Regions from separate parts of the Homo sapiens genome. Here region 2 is linked to region 1. The links are contacts of gene promoters, found by promoter capture Hi-C in blood cells and fetal thymus (Javierre and others, 2016). All regions are on one chromosome and are shown on one strand. The core of a region is centred on a gene start or on the middle of the fragment in contact, and the rest is flanking DNA. Distances in the headings are between cores, read along the strand shown.

What was found. Contacts are between HindIII fragments. The CHiCAGO score rates a contact against its expected background, and 5 or more counts as called.
Region 2: a contact is called between the fragment with the promoter of AURKC here and a fragment that was not itself captured in region 1, in 1 of 17 cell types (naive CD8 T cells). The highest score is 5.8, in naive CD8 T cells.

The regions. Positions count from the first base shown.
Region 1 is chr19:58,126,040-58,133,150 of GRCh38, reverse strand. ZNF329 (zinc finger protein 329) reads left to right here. Exons shown (of 4, transcript NM_024620.4): 4 at 3,640-6,903. The coding sequence starts at 3,648. The coding sequence ends at 5,273. Among named protein-coding and RNA genes, the nearest start is that of ZNF329, 21 kb to the left of the region's middle. The HindIII fragment of the contact is 846 bases long and covers 3,603-4,448 here.
Region 2 is chr19:57,225,287-57,232,422 of GRCh38, reverse strand. AURKC (aurora kinase C) reads right to left here and starts at 1,400. Exons shown (of 7, transcript NM_001015878.2): 1 at 1,117-1,400; 2 at 636-681; 3 at 199-390. The coding sequence starts at 1,174. The HindIII fragment of the contact is 17,293 bases long and covers 1-7,136 here.

The DNA.
Region 1 (7,111 bases), core at 2,776-5,275:
GGTTTCTCTTCTCTCTGCTGGCCTTTAAGACCATCTATTGGCCAGGCGCGGTGGCTCACGCCTGTAATCCCAGCACTCTGGGAGGCTGAGGCGGGCGGATCACGAGGTCAGGAGCTCGAGACCATCCTGGCTAACATAGTGAAACCCTGTCTCTACTAAAAGTACAAAAAATTAGCTGGGCGTGGTGGCAGACACCTGTAGTCCCAGCTACTGGGGAGGCTGAGGCAGGAGAATGGCGTGAACCTGGGAGGCGGAGCTTGCTGTGAGCTGAGATCGCACCACTGCACTCCAGCCTGGGTGACAGTGCAAGACTCTGTCTCAAAAAAAAAGAAAAAAGAAAAAGACCATCTATCTACGTAGGTATGGATTGATGTTCGTTTATCCAGCTTTCTGACTCTGAGATACCTACCAGTGGAACTGCTGGGTGGTAGAATATACCTAATTTATGTTTTCTTTTTTTTTTTTTTTTTTCAGACGGAGTCTCGCTCTGTCCCCCAGGCTGGAGTGCAATGGTATAATCTTGTCTCACTGCAACCTCTGCCTCCTAGGCTCAAGCGATTCTCCTACCTCAGCCTCCCGAGTAGCTGGGATTACATGCATGCGCCACCGCGTCCAGCTAATTTTTGTATTTTTAGTAGAGACATAGTTGCCCAGGCTGGTCTTGAACTCCTGACCTTAGGTGATCCACCTGCCTCAGCCTCCCAAAGTGCTGGGATTACAGGCGTGAGCCACTGTGCCTGGCTTAATTTTTGTATTTTTAGTGGAGGTGGGGTTTCACCATGTTAGTCAGGCTGGTCTCGAACTCCTGAGCTCAGGTGATCCACCCACCTCAGCCTCCCAAACTGCTGGAATTATAGGCGTGAGCCACCGCGCCTGCCCCCAGTTTATGTTTTCACAGCTGCCACTAAGGTACCCTGCCAAGCACGCTGACCACTTTCCAAGCCCTCTTCCCTTGTGACCTACCAAAGCTTTATATTATTGTACTTCATTTTATTTTTACTCACGTGAAATGTGTATATTTTGTGTTCTTAAAGTCGCAGTTTGGAATTGCCTGAATGATAGAATGAGAAAATAAATATTGATGTTTTCAGGACATTTCTTTTTTTTCTTTCTTTTTTTTTTTTTTTTGAGGCAGAGTCTCGCCCTGTTGCCCAGGCTGGAGTGCAGTGGCGCTATCGCGGCTCACTGCAAGCTCTGCCTCCCGGGTTCATGCCATTCTCCTGCCTCAGCCTCCCAAGTAGCTGGGACTACAGGCGCCCGCCACCACGCCTGGCTAATTTTTTGTATTTTTAATAGAGACGGGGTTTCACCGTGTCAGCCAGGATGGTCTCGATCTCCTGACCTTGTGGTCCACCTGCCTCAGCCTCCCAAAGTGCTGGGATTACAGGCGTGACCCACTGCTCCCAGCCAATGTTTTCAGGACATTTCTATTTTCCCTTCACGAAGTGCTCTTTGATTACTTTGCCCATTTTTTTTCTTTTTATGTGCTGTTCTGTAAGAATCCTCTGTAGTTCTTGGGCAGTAATTCTTTGTGCTTTTAAATCTTATTTTCTCTCTGTAAGAATCCTCTATAGCTCTTGGGCAATAATTCTTTGTGCTTTTAAGTCCTATTTTCTCCCTATCTGCCACTTGCATTTTGTCTCTTATTGTGTCTTTTATTGGATGGAAAATTTGAATGCTGATATCAGACTTCTTAATCCTTGTCTGTTTTTTATTTTTTGGTTTTTGTTTTTTGTTTTTAAGACATGGTCTCTTTTGCCCAATCTGGAATGCAGTGGCACAATTACAGCTCACTGCAGCCTCAGCCTTCTGTGTGGGCTCAAGTGATAACTCCCACTTCAGCCTCCCAGAGTGCTGGGATTACAGGCATGACCCCCAATGCTTGGCCATATGGTTTTTTGGTTAAGTTTTGTTGATCAAAGTCTGCCACACTTATGAAGGCATACTACATTATTTAAACTTTGACTTTATGTTGCAGCCTGTATCCTTCTGAAATGTAAATACACGCGCACACACACACACACACACACATATACACATATACATGTATATATATTTAAATTGCCTAGAATGTAGACATATATGTATGTATGTATTCTGAGGCAAGGGTCTATTTTCATTTTACCTTAAAAAATAGAAAGAAGGCTGGGCACAATGGCTCATCCCTGTATTTGCAGCATTTTGGGAGGCTGAGGTGGGATAATTGCTTGAAGTTTTTGAGATTGAGGCTTCAGTGAACCAAGATCACACCACTGCACTTCAGCCTGAATGACAGAGCGAGACCCGATCCCACCAAATGAATGAACGAATGAATGGACAACCAGTTGTCTTAATATTGTGAAGTCTGAATGGACAAGGATGGTGACAGGAAGATTGATATGCATGAAGACACATGCAACCATTTACAGAATGCCCTTCATCCCCTAGCCTTGGAGACTGCTTTGTACATGATCCAGTTTTTTTTTTTTTTTTTTTTTGAGACGGAGTCTTGCTCTGTGGCCCAGGCTGGAGTGCAGTGGCACGATCTTGGCTCACTGCAAGCTCCGCCTCCCGGGTTCGCGCCATTCTCCTGCCTCAGCCTCCCGAGTAGCTGGGACTACAGGCGCCCGCCACCACGCCTGGCTAATTGTTTGTATTTTTTTAGTAGAGACGGGGTTTCACCACGTTAGCCAGGATGGTCTCAATCTCCTGACCTTGTGATCTGCCCACCTCGGCCTCCCAAAGTGCTGGGATTACAGGCGTGACCACCGCGCCTGGCCGACATGATCCAGTTTTTATAACAACCATGCAGGGCAGTCTTTGACAGTTTTTGTTTTGTTTTGTTTTTTGAGATGGAGTCTCACTCTGCCGCGTAGGCTGGAGTGCAGTGGTGTGATCTCAGCTCACTGCAACCTCTGCCTACCAGGTTGAAGTGATTCTCCTGCCTCAGCCTCCAGAGTAGCTGGGACTACAGGCATGTGCCACCACGCCTGGCTGATTTTTTTTGTATTTTTAGTAGAGACGGTGTTTCACCATGTTGGTCAGGCTGGTCTTGAACTCCTGACTTCAAATGATCCACCTGCCTCCACTTCCCAAAGTGCTGGGATTACAGGAGTGAACCACTGTGCCCCGCCAGGTCATTGACAGTTCTAAGACTTAGACCCAGAACTTTTAGGTCACCAAGCCTGTGCTTTGTCCTATCCATGAATGCAGAACTTTGATGACAGAGCTGGGGTGAGAACTGTTCCTTCAGTGCTGTTGTAAGCTCATTGTGAAGTCAGAGCTTTGGAAATGTGTACTGATGGGCAGTGTGTGACAGGGACAAGAATGCAGTGGCTGGGATGGAATTCTAGGGGGAGCAGGGATGCTTGGCCTCTGGTCTCTCACATCTCAAACTAATCCTTTTGGTGATGATTTATCCCGAGGTCCATTCCTCCTGCCTGCTCTCTAGGAAGATGAAAATGCTACATGGCTCTTTTTGAATCTGTTCTTGGTTCCATTCCTTGGCTACGATTTTACCTCTTCCTTGTATAAATTTGAATTTAAAAGAGAAAACAAGTAAAAAAATACACATCTTTACACCTAGCCCATCATCATTGTCTGTTTCTCTTACAGATAAAGCTTCATATACCTAAGTCTGCATTTTTCTTCTTTTTGCAGTTTGGGATATGAGATTGAAAATGACGACTCGGAATTTTCCTGAGAGAGAAGTACCCTGTGATGTAGAAGTGGAAAGATTCACAAGGGAAGTTCCCTGCTTGTCCAGTTTAGGTGATGGTTGGGACTGTGAGAACCAGGAGGGACACTTGAGGCAATCAGCTTTAACTCTGGAGAAACCAGGGACTCAGGAAGCAATTTGTGAATATCCTGGTTTTGGGGAGCATTTGATTGCAAGCTCAGACCTTCCACCGTCTCAGAGAGTTCTGGCAACAAATGGTTTCCATGCACCTGACTCAAATGTTAGTGGTCTGGATTGTGACCCCGCCTTACCCAGCTATCCTAAAAGTTATGCAGATAAGAGAACTGGTGACAGTGATGCCTGTGGAAAAGGCTTCAACCATTCCATGGAAGTTATTCATGGAAGAAATCCAGTGAGAGAGAAGCCCTACAAATACCCTGAAAGTGTTAAGTCTTTTAATCATTTTACCTCTCTTGGTCATCAGAAAATAATGAAAAGAGGCAAGAAATCGTATGAAGGTAAGAATTTTGAGAACATCTTTACTCTGAGCTCATCGCTTAATGAAAACCAGAGAAATCTCCCTGGAGAGAAACAATATAGATGTACTGAATGTGGCAAATGCTTCAAACGGAACTCTTCTCTTGTTTTGCATCACCGAACTCACACCGGAGAGAAGCCTTATACTTGTAATGAGTGTGGAAAGTCCTTCTCCAAGAACTACAACCTGATTGTGCATCAAAGAATCCACACAGGAGAGAAGCCCTATGAATGCAGTAAATGTGGGAAAGCTTTCAGTGATGGCTCAGCTCTGACACAGCACCAGAGAATTCACACAGGCGAGAAACCTTATGAATGCCTAGAGTGTGGAAAAACCTTCAACCGAAATTCATCCTTAATTTTGCACCAAAGAACTCATACAGGGGAAAAACCATATAGATGTAACGAATGTGGGAAACCCTTCACTGACATCTCCCACCTTACAGTGCATCTCAGAATCCACACCGGTGAGAAGCCCTATGAGTGTAGCAAATGTGGAAAGGCTTTCCGGGACGGCTCGTACCTCACCCAGCATGAGAGGACTCACACTGGAGAAAAGCCCTTTGAGTGTGCAGAGTGCGGGAAATCCTTCAACAGAAACTCTCACCTCATTGTGCATCAAAAGATCCATTCTGGGGAGAAACCCTATGAATGTAAAGAATGTGGCAAGACTTTCATCGAGAGTGCGTACCTCATCAGGCATCAGAGGATTCATACTGGCGAGAAGCCCTATGGCTGCAACCAGTGTCAGAAACTTTTCAGGAATATCGCTGGCCTCATTAGGCACCAGAGGACTCATACTGGTGAGAAGCCCTATGAGTGTAATCAGTGTGGCAAAGCCTTCAGGGACAGCTCCTGTCTGACCAAGCACCAGAGAATTCACACTAAGGAGACCCCATATCAGTGTCCAGAATGTGGGAAGTCCTTCAAGCAGAACTCTCACCTGGCAGTACATCAGAGACTCCATAGCAGGGAGGGTCCCAGCCGGTGTCCTCAGTGTGGAAAAATGTTCCAAAAGAGCTCATCCCTTGTTCGACATCAAAGAGCACACCTGGGAGAGCAACCCATGGAAACATAATGGTTGGGGGCCACATGAGTCTTCCAGTTCACTCTCACTCCTGTGTTTAGGAGGCGTGTCTTAGATCTGACTCCTCTCTGGTCAGTAGAAAAGAATCCTTTAAGCTATCCAGTGAATTGATGAATGTGAGACATTGCTGAGCCACACTGTTAAGTCTGCTCATTGGGGAACTCCAGAGACAACTTAGGATGAGGGCAGAAAAGTCTTTGGGGATGATTCAGTCTGTACCAGACATGACAACACACACACTGGAATGAAATGTGCAAACATGGGGGTGACACCACAGAGAGAACCTGTGAATGCATTCAGAACATGATTGGAATGAAGAGCCCTGTAGTAGGGAGTTTCCACCTTGTACGTAAGCAAACACTGAATCAACTTTTTTTTTTTTTTCGGACAGAGTCTCACTGTGCAGTGGCATGATCTCCACTCACAGCAACCTCTGCCTCCCAGGTTCAAGCAGTTCTCCTGCCTCAGCCTCCAAAGTAGCTAGGATTACAGGTGCCTGCCACCATGCCTGGCTAATTTTTTCTATTTTTAGTAGAGACAGGGTTTCACTGTGTTGGCCAGGCTGGTCTTGAACTCCTGACCTCATGATCCGCCCACCTCAGCCTCCCAAAGTGTTGGGATTACAGGCATGAGACACTGCCTGGCCTGAATCAACCTTTTTTAAGTGTAATCAGAAAGAGAGGCTTTGGCAGGGGCTCTTACTGTGTTTTCTGTAACAACAAAGGTGTACAATGAGAGAGTCCACACAGTGCTGTACTGCACACACCACAGAATGTGTGAGATTTTCCTGTTTGAATGTATGTCTGCATTATACTCCTGCAATAATGCTGAGGACTCGTTGCAGGAGGGCAAACTAGGTGAATAAATTACCTGTGAATGAACAATGAAGTCGTTCCTCTTAAGACTGAAACAAGCAGGCCAGATGTGGTGGCTCACGCCTGTAATCCTAGCACTTTGGGAGGCCGAGGCGGCCAGATCACAAGGTTAGGAGTTCAAGACCAGCCTGGCCAGCATGGTGAAACCCCATCTCTACCAAAAATACAGGAAATTATCTGGGCATAGTAGTGTGTGCCTGTAATCCCAGCTACTTGGGAAGCTGAGGCAGGAGAATTGCTTGAACCTGGGAGGTGGAGGTTGCAGTGAGCTAAGATCGCACCACTGCACTCCAGCCTGGGTGACAGAGCGAGACTCCATTTCAAAAAAAAAGACTGAAACAAGCTTGTGCTAAGATGGAAAGGGCTGCTTCTAACAGATGTGGTTTGTTGCTTTAGTTGTTGAAGCAAAAATACTGAGTTGTTATGTTTATGTTATCACCCCACCACTACCTCCATGGTTGTTCATTTAGGATGCTTCTAATTCAGCCACTGTGAACCATTATAAAGGTTTTATTGCCATGTTGAAAATGTTTATAATATGGCAAAAAGGGGCATCAAATAGAAGATTTACTATTATTCCAGCCATGTAAAAATATGTGCACATATGGATGTATGTTGAAAGTGGATGATGGAGAAATAAAATGTGGTTTTCTTTGGGGACTGGAATTTTGTATCATATTTTTTTCTCTGTTACAGATACTTGTTGGCATAATAATTTGGTAATAAATTAAAAAGTGAAGCCAAAAGGAGGTTAATTTGGGGTTTCTTTGGACCTTTAGTAGTAGGGACTGGATCAGGGCAACAGGGAAGCTGTAAGTGTGGATGGAGGGGCATTGGGCAGTAGCGTCTCTGGAATCAGCATCCCAAAGCCCAGGGCATGAGAATAACTTCCTTCTTTGGGACTTGGGTTATAAGGGGTTGTCAGTGTAGAAGAGAGAGTGAGTCCCAGAGAAT
Region 2 (7,136 bases), core at 151-2,650, 900 kb after region 1:
TCTGGGAGCAAGTGAGGGGAGAACGGAGAACAGGAACCAGGATTCGAGTGTCTGACCCAGGGTAGGAGGTAGTGTAAATGGAATGAACTGCAGAGAAGTCTTCAAGGTACAAGTGCAGGGTTTACTTGGGGTTAGTATTTGGGGAAAATGCTGGGCTCAGACGTCAAAGATGAAAGAGGAAGCAGAGACTGTCCTTACTGTAGATGAGCCTGGATCTCAATTTCCCGGCGCAGCTGGTGCTCCAGTCCTTCCTTCTCTATCTGCGACTTGAAGAGAACCTTCAGGGCCACAATGAAATGGCTTTCCTTGAGCCGAGCCAGGTACACATTCCCAAATTTCCCCTTGCCCAGGGGACGCCCGATTTCAAAGTCATCGACTGTGAGGCGCCGCCTGACAGGAGAGGAAGAAAAAAGCCTCAGCTTGGGAGGTAGGGTAGGCGGAGGGAAAGTCAGGGATGCCAATGCTCCCCTTCCTCTTTCATTGTATCCTTCCTCTGCCGCTTTCCCTTCTCACACAGACCCAGCCCTATCAGTAGTTCTCGTTCCCAGGAGCCAGCACCCCACACACCCAGTCTGTTCTTCATCCCCACGTCCCACCTTCCTTCCTTTTCCAGATACCAATCCCAAGGGACTCACATGGCTGGGCTGCTGGGCTGCTGGGCTGTTTGGTTTGCTGTAGCCACTGAAAGAGAGGAGGAGGAGGGAGATAGGAAGGGAGAGGGGAGGGAAGGAGAAGGGGAGAGAAAGAGAGGAGAGGAGAACAGTAGAGAAGGGAATAGGGAGCGAGAGGTGAGGGGAAGAAGGGGAGGAGAGAAAGAGAGGGAAGGGGAAGGCAGGGAGAGGGGGAGGGAGAGGTAAGGGGAAGAAGAAAGAGTAAGGTAAGGTAGGGAGGGGAGGAGGAGGTGAAGAAGAGGCAGAGAGAAAGGAAGGGGAGGAGAGAGTAGGGGAGGGAGAGGTGAAAGAAAGAATTGGAGGGAAGGGAGGGAGTGGGGAGAAAAGAAGAGCGTTGGGGAGGAGGAGAGGGAGGGGAGATGTCAACACATGTGTCTTCTGTGCACCCGACCCCTGGCCCAGTCCCCAGCCTTCCCTGCGTCCTTTCTCTGGCGCTGGCTCTCACACTCTTCGCCTGCAGGTTGAGCTTTGCCCAGCTGCACCACAGCTCTGGGGGAGCTCATGGGGAGAAGAGGTGAGGGCGCGGACGCCTTCCTGAACCCTCTGGATGGCTGTTCCCGTTCACAGGGTCCTGAAAGGGGTGGGGGGTCACTTTCTGGCCGGGGCGCTTCCAATCCTGCTCGTCCTGCAGCCTCACTGATGTCTCACTGCTACACAGGCTTCGGGATCCGCGGCGTCGTGAGCAGCCGTGGCTGCGCGGCCTTCTTTTATACCCGGCACCAACCGCTCAGAGAGGTACTTCCTGGCTGGCTCCTATTGGCTGAAATTCCTGACGCCATCGGAAGTGCGCCCAATAGAAAGGACAGAAACGGGAGCCTCAGTCCAGGGTTCCCGGGTTGGGGCGGAACTGGAGTGCTGCGGTCCGGGCTGGGCACTGAAAGCGAGGGCCAGGGGTGAGGCCCGAGAAGGAAGGAGACAGAGGGTGCGGAGAGGTGGTGATGGCCGTTGTGGGAATGAACAACGCATACACCCACGGGGTGTGCATGCGTCAACTAGGAGAGAGCCGCGATGCACGTGGGAATGAACAGACGCCCACTCCTGACGTGCTGGAGCCTCGTGCAGCCCGTGACCCTAAACCACTTCGCGCCTTGTGCAGCCGGCGACCCCAAAACCACCTTGCTTCAAGGTCACGTCCGATTCAGGCCACTCTCCAGGGTCACCGCGATGGGGCTCCCTGAAGCCTGCGGCTGTGCCTGCTCACAGCCAGGACGCCACCAGTCCAGCTCACTTACCCCTCTCCTCCCACTCGCCAAATATTTGTTGGACCCTGTAATCAGTTTGTGGATTTGGCCTCAGATCGTAAAATCAGCCCCCACGTATTTGTTTAGCAAACACATAAGTTTCAAAAACATTAAAAATTGAATTCTTTTAGACAGGGAACATATCTTGCAGAAATATAATTGAAGGCCTGGCGTGATGGCTCATGCCTGTAATCCCAGCACTTTGGGAGGCCGAGGCGGGCGGATCACCTGAGGTAGGCAGTTCGAGACCAGCCTGGCCAACAGGGCGAAACCCCGTTTCTACTACAAAAATTAGCCGGGTGTGGTGGCGCATGCCTGTAATCCCACCTACTCAAAAGGCTGAGGCAAGAGAATCGCTTGAACCCTGGAGGCGGAGGTTGCAGTGAGCCAAGATCATGCCACTGCACTCCAGCCTGGGCGACAGAAGGAGAACGAGACTCTGTCTCAAAAAAAACAAAAACAAAAACAAAAAAACCCAAAAACAAAAAAGCTCGTCTCAAAATATTTGGGGAGACCTATTTGAGTAATAAAACTCTGGTCTCTCATTTAGCTCGATTGATGTGAATTAAACCCTTTATTGCAATTATCCTGTCTTGATAAGTCGACTCTATCTGGGGAGCAGGGAAAATAATGAACCCATTAGGTGGTTACAATAGGTGGATCAGGGTAATGGCGCTTAGCTCAGGCCAACCATTCCTTTCTCAGAGGCTTTCCCAAACCTGTCTGTTTGTTTGTTTATTGAGACGGAGTCTTGCTCTGTCACCCAGGCTGGAGTGCAGTGGCTCGAACTCAGCTCATGCAACCTCCGCCTCCTAGGTTCAAACATTTCTCCTGCCTCAGCCTCCTGAGTAGCTGGGATTACAGGCACCTGCCACCATGCCCGGCTAATTTTTGTATTTTTAGTAGAGACAGGGTTTCACCATGTTGGCCAGGCTGGTCTCGAACTCCTGACCTCAGGTGATCCACTCGCCTCGGCTTCCCAAAATACTGGGATCACAGGTGTGAGCCACTGCGCCCAGCTCCAAACTGTCAATTTAAAACAGCCCCCACTACAACGTCATCCTGTTCTGTTTTTCCTTAGGTCACTCATAACCATGTGAAAGTGCTGTTTTATATATGTGTATATTGTTAATTTAATGAGTATCGATTGAGTGCCTATCTTGCAACAGGCACTGCTCTAAAAAATCAGATATGTACATAGCAAAATAATTATGCATTCCTGTACTTGAGGAATTTTTTTTTTTTTTTGAGATGCAGTTTCACTCTGTCGCCCAGGCTGGAGTGCAGTGGTGCGATCTCGGCTCACTGCAACCTCTGCCTCCCAGGTTCAACCAATTCTCCTGCCTCAGACTCCCAAGTAGCTGGGACTACAGGTGCACACCACCACGCCCGGCTAATTTTGGTATTTTTAGTAGAGACAGGGTTTCACCATTTTGGCCAGGCTGGTGTCGAACTCCTGACCACAGATGATCTACCCACCTCAGTCTCCCAAATTGCTGGGATTACAGGCGTGAGCCACTGTCCCTGGCCCTCGGGGACCTTTTAATTCCAACAATCAGTAACTCAAAAAGAACAACCACAACCACAAAAGTAAACAATATAGAAGGTTAGAGGGAGGTAGAGTAGTTGGGAAATGTCTAAAAGACAGTTATATCTGAGCATGGACTTGGAGGAATGGAGCATCTGAGGTAACAGGGTCTCATAGAGAGAGCACCTAAGACAAGGGAATGAAAGCAGGAGGATCCTGTCGTGTTTGGGGAAGTGCAACAAGGTTAGTATGGCTGCAGCTGAAGATAAACTGAATCACAGAGATAGATGGACGTGAATTCTGTAGTGTCCTGGAGGCCACAGTAAGGAGGTCATATTTTTATTTTTAGTTTTGAGACAAAGTCTCACTCTTCCACCCAGGCTGGAGTGCAGTGACACCATCATGGCCCACTACAGCCTCGAACTCCCAGGCTTAAGCAATTCTTCCACCTAAGCCTGCCAAGTAGCTGGGACCACAGGTGCATGCCACCACATCCAGCCAATTTTTAAAAATTTATTCTTTTTAAAGATGGGGTCTCACTATATTTCCCAGGCTGGTCTTGAACTCCTGGGCTCAAGCAGTCCTGCCTCAGCCTCCCAAAGTGCTGGGATTACAGGCGCGAGCCACTGCGCCTGGCCCAAGGATGTTGTAATAGGCTCCCTGTGTATTCTAGAATATACCTGGGATTGTATTTAGTCAGGCAGGGTGTGACAATCAGATACAGAAGTGATTATTATGGAGGAAGTTTATAGTAAGAGATCCCTAGAAACAGGAGGCAGAGCACACCATGCGGGTGGAAGCACCAGAGCAGGTTAGAAAGCAGCAGCAGAGGAGAAAGCAAGGCCCAGAGCCTGCGCTGTGTTTTCCACCAGAAAGGCAAGGCAAGGCAGGGCAGGGGCAGCATAAACAGAATAGGATTTGCTACTGTGAATAATGTTGGCAGGTTTTAGGACACAGGCACTGTCCGCAGCTATCTGATATCTGACCCTAGAATGAATTAGGGCCAACTTCAGGAAAACAACCTCTTGGGGTATCTTGCCTGGTAAGATTTTTATGTCGAAAACCATAAGTAGGTCCTGCTGCACGTTTGACCAGATAATTTATGCTAACAATATGATTCATGGTGGATGCTGGCTTTTGCATGCATGAGGCCCTGGGCCATGCTATATGTTTGTTTTCTGCAAGGGTTGTAGACTGGATATTTATGGTTATTCATGTGGGTTCTGCATTCCTACCTCAATGACCCTTAACGAAAACTCTAGACGTCAAGGCTTGGGGGAGCTTCCCTGGCTGGCAATACTGTGAATGTGTTGCACACAACTTTGCTGGGAGAATTCAGTGTGCCCTTGTGCAACTGCACTGGGAGGGAACACCTGCTAAGTTTGTGCCTGTGCTGGACACAGTGGCTTCCACCCGTAATCCCAGCACTTTGGGAGGCCAAGGCGGGTGGATCACTTGAAGTCAGGAGTTCCAGACTGGCCTGGCCAACATGGTGTAACCCCATCTCTGCTAAAAACACAAAAATCAGCCAGTGTGGTGGCACATGCCTGTAATCCCAGCTACTTGGGAGGCTGAGGCAGAGGATCACCTGAACCTGGGAGGCAGAGGTTGCAGTGAGCCGAGATTGTGCCATTGCACTCCAGCCTGGGTGACACAGCGAGACTCCATCTCAAAAAAAAAAAAAAAAAAAAAGAAAAAGAAAAAAGAAAAAAAATTGTGCCTGGTTTCTCACAGATTTCCTCCTATGTGCCTTTTACCTTTGGTGATCTTGGTCTCTATCCTTTTGTGGTAATAAACTGTAACCATGAGTACAACAGCTTTTCTGAGTTGTGTGTGACTTTCTTTTCTGAATTTTGACTTTCAGGCAAATCATCGAGCCTGAGGTGGTACTGGGGAGAGAATGTCACATAACCTAAAATGTCAAAAATGATTAAGGCTCATTCACCTAACAAATATCTGAATACATACTATTGACTACAAACTATGCACATGGAACATTAGGAGAAAATCTAGATCAAGGTCTGTGCTTTTTCGAAGCTGGAAATTGAGTTCAGGATACGGTCATTATTCAATAACCAAACAAATCAATAGATAATCATGAAAGAATGGGTATGAGCTAGCTGGGTGCTCTAGTGGGCTTCTGTGAAGGTGTGCTCTCTGGGACAAAATGAAGGATACACATTTGCTAACTGGGCAAAGCAGGTGGTGGAAGCTCCATCTCGAGTGGGAAAAGGAAAGGGAAGCATGGAGTGAAAGGAGAGCAGTAAGACTTGTATGAGATGAGGGTTGGGGAAATACGTTTTAGGGTATGTTCACTAAAGTAGGTAGCTGAACCCAAGAGTGCAGATGAGGCCTGGGGAGAGACCAGTAAGAGAAAAAAGAGGCCTGGGACAAAGCCTTAGAAATTTCAACACCGGTCAGGCACGGTGGCTCATGCCTGTAAGCCCAGCCCTTTAGGAGGCCAAGGCAGGCGGATCACCTGAGGTCAGGAGTTAAAGACCAGCCTGGCCAACATGGTGAAACCCCGTCTCTACAAAAATACAAAAATTAGCCGGGCATAATGGCAGATGCCTGTAATGCCAGCTACTCAGGGGGCAGAGGCGGGAGAATCACTTGAACCTGGGAGGCGGAGGATGCAGTGAGCCGAGATCATGCCATTGCACTTCAGCCCGGAGACAGAGCAAGACTCTGTCTCAAAGAGAAAAAAAAAAGAAAAAAAATTCAACACCAAATGGCTGGATACACGTGGATGCACCAACATGAAAGGGGAAAAGGAGTGAGAGGGTGCAGGGGAGAAAACCAGAAGCATAACCTTACAGAATCCAAGAGTACATCTGGAGAAAGGACTGGACAACAACAGTTTCAAGTCCTGTCCATAGCCCAGAAAAGACAAGGACTTAGGATTCATAAACAGGGAGCCACTGCTGACCTTCACCAGAGTGGTAAAAAGCGTGGTGCTGTAGCCGGGGAGTTTACAAGGAGAGGGGAGTTGCGGGACGTGGAGAGAAATAACACAAGGAAGAGGTAATGGGAGCGTGACATGAGCCCCAAGAGGCTCCTCCATTAGAGGAAGAGAGTGAGGAAAAGACAAAGAACTCAAAGCTGGAGAAGCCCATACAGACATAGGGACATATGGAAGATCAGACTGGTGATGTCTGATACTCAAGAAGTGTGAGGATAATTCAGAAAGGGTTTGAAAATGACAAAAGAACATGCAGATGAAGACCAGGCACGGTGGCTCATGCCTGTAACCCCAGCACTTTGGGGGCCAGGGGAGGAGGACTGCTTGAGCCCAGGAGTTTGAAACCAGCCTGGGCAACACAGGGAGACCCCCATCTCTACAAAAAATTTAAAAATTAGCTGGGCATAGTGATGTGCACCTGTAGTCTCAGATACTTGGGAGGCTGAGCCTGCAGTGAGCCATGATCAGAAGACCCTATTTTTTTTTTGTTTTTTGTTTTTTGAGATGGAGTTTCACTCTTGTTGCCCAGGCTGGAGTGCAATGGCGCAATCTTGGTTCACCGCAGCCTCTACCTCCCGGGTTCAAGCATTTCTCCTGCCTCAGCCTCCCGAGTAGCTGGGATTACAGGCATGCACCACCACACTCAGCTAATTTTTTGTATTTTTAGTAGAGACGGGGTTTCTCCATGTTGGCAAGGCTGGTCTCAAACTCCTAATCTCAAGTGATCCACCTGC